Linked DNA regions of Homo sapiens: region 1 is linked to region 2. The links are contacts of gene promoters, found by promoter capture Hi-C in blood cells and fetal thymus (Javierre and others, 2016). All regions are on one chromosome and are shown on one strand. The core of a region is centred on a gene start or on the middle of the fragment in contact, and the rest is flanking DNA. Distances in the headings are between cores, read along the strand shown. Region 1 overlaps WDR1 (WD repeat domain 1). Region 2 holds the start of BOD1L1 (biorientation of chromosomes in cell division 1 like 1).

What was found. Contacts are between HindIII fragments. The CHiCAGO score rates a contact against its expected background, and 5 or more counts as called.
Region 1: a fragment that was not itself captured here is called in contact with the fragment with the promoter of BOD1L1 in region 2 in 1 of 17 cell types (neutrophils); the score reaches 7.1 in neutrophils.

The regions. Positions count from the first base shown.
Region 1 is chr4:10,104,288-10,108,401 of GRCh38, reverse strand. All of the region lies in intron 2 of WDR1 (WD repeat domain 1), which reads left to right. Among named protein-coding and RNA genes, the nearest start is that of WDR1, 10 kb to the left of the region's middle. RefSeq lists an enhancer at 204-935 and a silencer at 1,546-1,595. The HindIII fragment of the contact is 1,194 bases long and covers 1,375-2,568 here.
Region 2 is chr4:13,624,718-13,629,114 of GRCh38, reverse strand. It overlaps BOD1L1 (biorientation of chromosomes in cell division 1 like 1), which reads left to right and starts at 1,390. Exons shown (of 26, transcript NM_148894.3): 1 at 1,390-1,770. The coding sequence starts at 1,528. It overlaps MIR5091 (microRNA 5091), which reads right to left and starts at 1,250; the gene lies at 1,158-1,250. RefSeq lists enhancers at 500-1,230, 1,234-1,393, 1,231-1,961 and a silencer at 1,534-1,733. The HindIII fragment of the contact is 7,220 bases long and covers 1-3,140 here.

The sequences.
Region 1 (4,114 bases), core at 722-3,221, 3.5 Mb after region 2:
GGGCAGGTATCTCCAACCTTCTAGCATGTTCCATCAGGTTCACTGTGGGCCAGGAGCTGAGATACCAGTGGCAAGCCTTGAGACCCAAGCCCCAGGACCCAGGGTCATCACAGCCTACCTGTAAATTGGAGTAGTGACCTCTGGCCCCTCCGTCACCCACCTGAGACTGGGAGGACATAGGAAAGTAAGAGAGCTTTGAGGGGCTCAGGGCTCACTAATTGTAAATGTTGCTGCCTGGGGCATAACAGAGTTACGGAAATGTCGCTTCTGTGTGCTTGTTTGCATGACCTGTGTATTATAGCGAGTCTCAAAGGCGGCACAGACATTGTACAGGTGCCGGGGGGGAGTATGTTTAGGTTTGCCATTCAACAGGATTCTCAGAAAAAGACCAGCTATTCCTGGGCAGGATGCCTCAGTGCACAGGTGGGAGGTGGGGGCTGGTGGGACCTGAGCATAGTGTGACAGAGTAGAATGGCCTCCCGGGTCAAGTCCAAAGCTTCTGCTTCAAATGGGCACCACTGGGCCTTGAACCAGGCCCTGTGTTGGCAGGGCTGGGTGCTGTTACATGCTGTCACTTGCCGAAGTCCGTGGGTCCTGGGTCTGCTCGCGTGTGTGACTCCTTGATTGCTGGCTGGTGTCCTTCATGTCCTCAGAGGCCCCCGGACTCCTCCAGGGGTGGTGGCAGAATTCTGGGGCTTGTCTCGAGGTCTTATCCCAGCCCCAGCTCTGGCCCTCACAGGCCCTAGCCCCCAGGTGTGGAGGCCACTGGGGAAGGGGTCTGGGGCCAGCAAGGTAGAGGGGCTGCACCTGTTCTATCCTCAAGGGTTGGGGTGAGGGGCCATGGGTTGGGGTAGTCAGCCCAAGGAGTGGCTGGCAACGTCAGGGCGGCAGCAGGGTAGCGACGAGTGGGCTGAAGCCTGGAGGGAGCTCAGGAAGGGTGGGTTGCAAGCCGGACCGTGAGGTAATCAGGGTCGGGATTTGAAGACTACCGGCTTGGTGGAGGGTGGAGATGCATTCCAAAGCAGTTATCGCTCTTCCCAGGAAGAACAGGAGGACTGCATTGAAAATGGTGGAGGTAAAAGAGAAGATGGGTTGGGAGTTGGCAAGGAAAACTGGGCAGGCCTGTGGTGAGGACTGAACGGCAGCCTCCCACTGCCAGAGCTGGCCCAGCCTGCAGCAGCATGAGAAGAAAGCCTGGGAGGAGGGGTGTCCCTGAGTGGGCAACTCCAAGGCTGCTCATGGTGGTCTCCCCCAGGCCCCCAGGGAGATGGGGAGACAGAACTTTTGCCTACAGTAGCACTGGGGCTCCTGGAATTGGCTTCCTGCCCTCCCTGTCTCGTTTTCCCCATTCCAGAGTTTTTCCCCAAATAAGCTTCTCAACCCCCAATCTCATTCTTCTTCCCCAAGATGGAAGGAGGGGGAGGAGGCTGGGGGGAGAGGGGCACACTGAGGGTGTCAAGGTGCCATCTCGACCCAGCTGATGGGGACAGAGCCTCACAGGCCGAGTGACACGTGGGGGTGTGAGGTATCTTTCTGGGTGTAGTAAGCAGCCTCCCTCTGCGAGCTGAGGAGCTGGGGAGGAGGCTGCTCTGACTCAGATGTAAGTCATTATCTGCAGTTTGGAGTATCTCAGCCCCCACCGCTGACCCAGTTGTATTTAGAATACAAACGAGAGTGAGTGATTCATCAGCTGGCAGGATTCTGTTGCCCTTTGGGGTTTTTACACACAGCCCTGACCATTTAGGGGAAGGAATTTTTAGGGGCAGAACTTCCTCTCATGCCCCTGCCCAGGCATCTTCCATCTCTGGATGCCCTCCCCAGCGGAAGGCCCATGGGAGCCCCACCCTTTCTACGGCAGCACGGCCTGGGGAGGAGGTCGTCCAGGCTGGGAGAGCCCACGAGGCCATCTGTCTGGCGGGATGGGCAGGTGCCCCTGTATGTGAGCGTGAGACCTCCCCCATCCCCAGTCAGCTGTGAGTGTACACCGAACAGGGTCTTGGAGGGGCTGCCTGTTAAGTGGATCATTTTCTTGCCAGGTGCTTTGGGTAGGGATGTGTCAGTGTCAGAATATGAAGGACTAATTGGAGTGGGAGAGGGTTGGATTGGGCAGACATTTAATAAATAGCCAGCATCTTAGTTTTATTGAGGTGTACTTTAGATACAGTAGAATTTGTCTGTATTCAGTGTGTGGCTTGGATCTTGACAGATGACCTATATAGTCCCATAAGCACCACCCCTGTCATGACAGAACATTCCTGTCACTCCGGAGGGTGCCCCCCGCCCCCGCCACCCCTTCCACCCTCACCCCCAGCAGCTGCTTATCTGCTTTCTGTCATTGGGGTTGCCTTTTCTAAAATCTTCTTTCATATGAAGTGAGAGGCAATGTGTAGTCTTTTCTGTCTGGCTTTTTCACTTTGCATAACATGTTGGCGATTGATAGCTGGTGTTGAGTGCATTTGCACTTTGTTCCTTTCTATCACTAAGCAGTGCGGTGTGTTGCCTGTTTCTCTGTTCACCTGTTGATGGATATTTGGGTATTTCCAGTTTTTGGCCATTGCAAAGAAAGCTTCTGTGAACATTGCTCCTGTGTCTTTTGGTGGACACATGCTTCCATTTCTCCAGGGCAGATACCTAGGAGTGGGGTTGCTGGTGTTTGGTGTGAGTAGTGTCTGTTTAGGTTTATAAATAACCTGCCCAACTCTTTTCCAACTGTACCATTTTGCATTTCCACCAGCAGTGTGAACATTCCAGTGTCCCCACCCCTCTACCCTTGCCAGCACTTGGTGATGTCAGTCTTTTCTTTTTATTGATTCTAGTGAGTATGGAGTGGTATTCTGTTGTAGTTTTGACTTGCATTTCCCAAGACTAATGACACTGAGCGCTTTTTCATGTGCTTACTTGTCATTCGTAGTATCTTCTTTGGATAGACACCTTGATACATTCTAATTTCACTGGCGAACGATTATCCCAAAATGGATTAATTTATGACTGGTGTCTATTATATCACATAATGCTGTGTTAAGTCTTAGGGATGAAAGAGAAGGTCTGTGTGTACTTCTTTTTTTCTCCCCCAAACCACTTATTGAGATGGCTAGTGAGATAAAGGTCATGTTAAGCAGGGCACAGCAGAGTTGGAGGAGATGGACAGGAATGCTAGGGACTATGATGTGTGTTGTGCCATCCCGGTGGACATGTTAAATGATCTGGAAGCACAGAAGAGTTGATACGGATAGCTTGGGCCATACTTGGAGGCTTCATGGAGGAGGGAACGCTTCCGTTAGGCCTGATGGGTGAGTGGGTGTCCGTAGGCAGGGAGAGGTGCTGGCCAAGGGCACAGACTACACACAGACGTGGAGCTTAAACAGGATGGCAGAAGGTGGGCAGGAATCAGGGTCTGTACTTCTGTGGTCTCAGTCTCGTGAGATGGGGGCCCCTCAGGTCTTGAGGAGGGGTCTAAGGGAGATGAGGGGTGGGGTGGCAGCAGGTGGGGTCATGCTAGGGGTGCCCGGGCACCCTCACAGGAGTCTGGTGTGTCCTAAGCCTCAAGCTGGCGGGAAGCTGCCTCTTTCAAAGAGCACTTGGTTTGTAAAAAGCTGACAGTAGGTAGCAGAGATTAGATGGCCATGTCTTTATTCCCTCCTGAAAGAAAGCTTCACTGTGGAGACAGATTGAGAGCAGCCCAGTGTGTGTGTGTGTTTCTGTTTCACTGAGGCCCTGCGTGTGTGTGTATGCCGGGAGGGAGGCGCAGGGATCTACTTTTAGCACATTACATGTTGAAACCTCATTGCTGAAGATGCTTCTAGTCTCAAATGTTGGCCCCATTTTTGCCACAAAGTCCACCCAGCCTTTGATCTGTGCTATGCAAGGGAGTGGGGAATCGACTTTCCTTTCCAAACCCAAGTTTTTGATAGAGAGGGCTCCCACAGCGTGTCCTGCTCTGCTCCTGCACAGCACAGCCAGGCGCTGAGTTTGGGGTCCAACATTGATTGGCAGCCAGGAGAGCTGGTCCTAAACACGGAAGAGAACAGAGCGCTGGAATGAATGCAGCTTCCCACAAATGGGAGGGATTAGAACCAGGGCTTCTTGCTCTAATCCACCTTTTGTGTATCTGTTT
Region 2 (4,397 bases), core at 141-2,640:
ACTTTCAGTATATCAGGTGAAAGGTACACCTCATTGAAAAAATCAGGTCTAATTCATAGTCATTTGGTATCTTGGTAAAACCTATCTGGTATATTTCCCAGAATCTGAAAGAGTGAAAAAATAAGGATTAAGTAAACAAATCCTTTGGCAAGCCAGGTGGTTTTCAGCTCTTTGCTTTCCATAAAATAGAAGGAGGGCCTAATTGAAGTCAGCTCATAGATAATCAAATCTAATTTTTTGAGGTCAAGAATTGAATGATATTGCTACAACAAAACTCTTCCATTCCTAGGCACAGTACTTGTTTATATGAACAAGGTTTCTCAGGGCACACAGCTATAAAAATTACAAATAGGAATAGAATTGATGCTCAACCCTTCTTTTCCTACTAATAAGATATATTCAGCCACAGATGTAGGAACTTTAAAAAGCAACAATATGCATTTTTCAATAAAGTTACACACACTATTTAGTAATTATGAAATTTTCTAATATTTATGTTGCTTTGACCACGTACTAATAATAATTTCAAAGATGATGCAGTCCAAAAGCAGGTGATTTGCTAGCTGTGTAATCTTACTCAACATACTTAATTTATCTGAGCCTTGGTTCCCTGATTTGCAAACTGGGGACAGTAATCAGACCTAGCTCTTAGTGTTTGTCCAAAGATTAAATGCGTTAATACATGTAAAAGCACTTAACGCCACGCTTGGTACATAATATGTGCTATAGATGTTTTACCTGCTATAATCATAGTAATCAATAGCAAATCTCCTAAAAATAAAAGCCTGTCGATTTGTCTTCACAGATAGGAAGAACGGGCTGGAGGGATCGGATCTAATCCACAGGCACACTGCCAGAAACAAGGGACCCCCACGGGGAAATGGTATGTGCAGGCAGAAGAGAGACAGAAGGAACTTGGAGCTACCTGCTGGGACAAGAATAGTGCAGGATCACAGGCTAAGAACGAAGAGGGTTGGGCGAAGTTAGAATGAGCAGATCCACGTAGGGTTCGCATTACAAATGTCTATGGATCTCTATGCACTGCTCCGGGAAACTGGAGCAAGAGAGGCAGGCCTAAAATGCCGTCGCGGATGAAGCGGGGCCAGAAACGCACTGCCCCCGCTCAGACCTAGGGCCCCAGGTGTCGCGCGGGTCGAAGCCCTAACCTCCAGGGACTCCAGACCCCTGCCGGTGACCTAAACCCCACAACCCGCGACCAGCACAGTCTTGTCGTCTCCGTCGCCACAGTCGCCGCCACTTCCGGCGCAGCTCGGCCTCGCGAGGGCGCTTGCGCCCGGCGACGGTCGAAACTGGCTCTTCGCGGCCTCCGTCGCCGGACTTTCGTCAATGTTGTCACCGTCTTTTCCTCCTTTCCCCCAGTTCCCTTTCACTTCCGGGGTTGCTCTGGATCCGCTGGTTCCGTAACAACATCCCGTTGGCTTCCCTCAGGCGGCGGGACCAGTGCAGCCGCCGCCTCCCAGGATCGTCCGCCGGTCAGGGCCCTTGCCCTCCCCGGCACAGGCCACCATGGCCACCAACCCACAGCCGCAGCCGCCTCCTCCGGCGCCGCCGCCTCCCCCGCCGCAGCCGCAGCCGCAGCCACCGCCGCCGCCGCCGGGCCCCGGGGCTGGCCCCGGCGCGGGCGGGGCGGGCGGCGCGGGTGCGGGCGCCGGGGACCCGCAGCTCGTGGCCATGATCGTGAACCACCTCAAGAGCCAGGGGCTCTTCGACCAGTTCCGCAGAGACTGCCTGGCCGACGTGGACACCAAGGTTAGGAGCGCGCCGGGTTTGGGGGTCTGCGAGGGAAGGGGAGGACCCAAGGGCGCGCTTCTTTTGCAGTGGCTTCCTCTTGGAGCTGCAGCTGTGTGCCACGGACTGTGCAAAGCACAGAGTGTTCATTCCTTAGCGTGTCCTTTGGTTCGTTTTACCGACTAGTGTTTAAGTACCTACTACGTGCCAGTCATGGTTTCGGCACAGTGATTACCCCGGTCTGATGAGCAAGACTAAGGCATTGTTCTTACAGGAACTGGTTTGGAAACAGTGGCGCTAACAGTAGCCAGTTTTGTATTCATTCTCATATCTGATGATTTTACTTTGTATCGAAGTTATGTTTGCCTTCTTTCTTGAAGGTTTCTGGGCGGTAAGGGCCTTTATCCTTTGGAGAAATGACTAAATGGTAATTGAATCAAGTTATGTGTAATATGCTTTGCTGGACATCGTGGGGGTGGGAGCGCAAAGATAAGGAGGCAAACCTGAGACAGGACTTTAGTATTGTTTCTAGCAGTGATTGCCTGATTTAGGTAACTTAGGCCATGTCACCATTCTAAGGTAAGAAGGGACAGGAAGGTGGGGTAGAGAGAACCGAGTCATTCAGTGGAGAAAAGATGCAGGAGAGGTGACAGCAGATACTGAAGTGGAGAAAGGACAGGAAAGAGAGCAGATTCAGGAGAGTAATGTAGAGAAGGGAAAGGACAGCAACAAGGTTCCCTGTCCAGAAAGAGAGGCTGGAAAGGGGAAGGGATTTTGTACCAAATGTCAGAGTGAAAGGGACATTAGCAGGAACAAGTAAACTTAGCTGGATTGGCAAAGAATTAGCCAAAGACACCAGGAAAGAGCAGTCAGTGAGATGGATGGAAAACCACAGTACAGTCTAGAATTCTGGAAGCAGAAAGCATGTTGGAAAATTAACTGGTTTGTAGGGGTTGTTTTTGTCTGCTTGTTAAATCTGGTTGGGTCCATTGGATTGGAGTTTTGATGAAATGAGGGTTTCCTTTTTTTTTTTTTTTTTTTTTTTTGAGACAGAGTCTCGCCCTGTCGCCAGGCTGGAATGCAATGGCGTGATCTCGGCTCACTGCAACCTCCGCCTCCCGGGTTCAAGCGACTCTCCTGTCTCAGCCTCCCAAGTAGCTGGGATTACAAGCGCGTGCCACCACGCCCTGCTAATTTTTGTATTTTTAGTAGACACAAGGTTTCACCGTGTTGGCCAGGATGGTCTCGATCTCCTGACCTCGTGATTCGCCCAGTAGGCATGAGCCACCGCGCCCGGTCGAGGGTTTTCTCATAGTATGTTTAGTTGTTCTGAGGAGCTTTGTATCTTTGAGAAATGCATGTTTACAACATCCACAGTTTCTTCTAAAGCTTTCAGGTGAACTGCACACAGTTCCACTATGTCTTCTGGGGAAACTCTTGAATATCCTGGTACATCTTCCTTTATAAGGACTCATACTGGGCCCACTATGTAAAACGTGGTTTTTCGGGATATTGGAGGTTTTGCACCACAGAGAATTCAATTCACTTGGGAGTGTTCATCTATTTAGGAAGTATAGTTTTTTTTACTTTTGTCTTCAGGAATATGCACTGCTACCTTTTAGAAATAATTTCTATTGCCTTTATTATTTTTGTTGTTATTTAATGGGAAAAGGTTAGACATGGCCAGGTAAATGTTATCAAATAAAGTTAGTTATTCGTATTCAACAAGTGGAATTTTTACTTTGCTGTTCTCAGAAACCCATGAATCTGTGTGTTCTCAGAAACCCATGAATCATTATGTATACAAATTAAAAATTGTAATGTACTGCTGCAATGTCTGAGGCTCAACTTTTTTATTATCCTATTCCCACAAAATGTTATTGGTATGTGTCTATAATATCCCTGCCAGACCCTTCAAAGTAAAGGATTAAAACCTTTTTTGGAGGGAAGGAGGGAAGCACAGTATCTCTGATCATCTAATGAAAGTTAGGACCTTCTCTCAAGAAAAATGCGCAAGTAACACATTAAAACGCTGTTTTTCTACTTCAGAATGGTCAACTATAGGCAATTTCATGAGAATCAATCTAATAACATATACAGTTTCAGTGAGTTCAGGAACCATGGAATAAGAACCTATTTTAATGTTCTTAGCCTCTTTTTTGAGGTCAAGAATTGAATGATATTGTTACAACAAAACTCTTCCATTCCGAGGCACAGTACTTGTTTATATGAACAAGGTTTCTCAGGGCGCATGACTATAAAAATTAGAAATAGGAATAGAATTGATGATCAACCCTTCTTCTAGTAATAAGACATATTCAGCCACAGATGCAGGAACTTTAAAAAGCAACAGTATGGCCAGGCCCGGTGGCTCATGCCTGGCCACCGTGGGCCAAAGTAGAAGATTCCCTGTTCATGCAAAGAACCATCACTTTAATGGAATCCTTGAGTTTCATCTGCCACTTGAACCTCAAAGACTGACCTGCTTTCTGTCAAAAAGTCTTAACTTGTAGCATATAGAGTTATAGTGGATTATGTCTGTCACGTGCATATTTAAGAATGAAGACATTTGATACCTGCCAGGTGCTAAGAGCAAAACTGTCATCCAGTTTAGTGTGTTTAAACCAGGATGAGAAGTACCAAAGTCT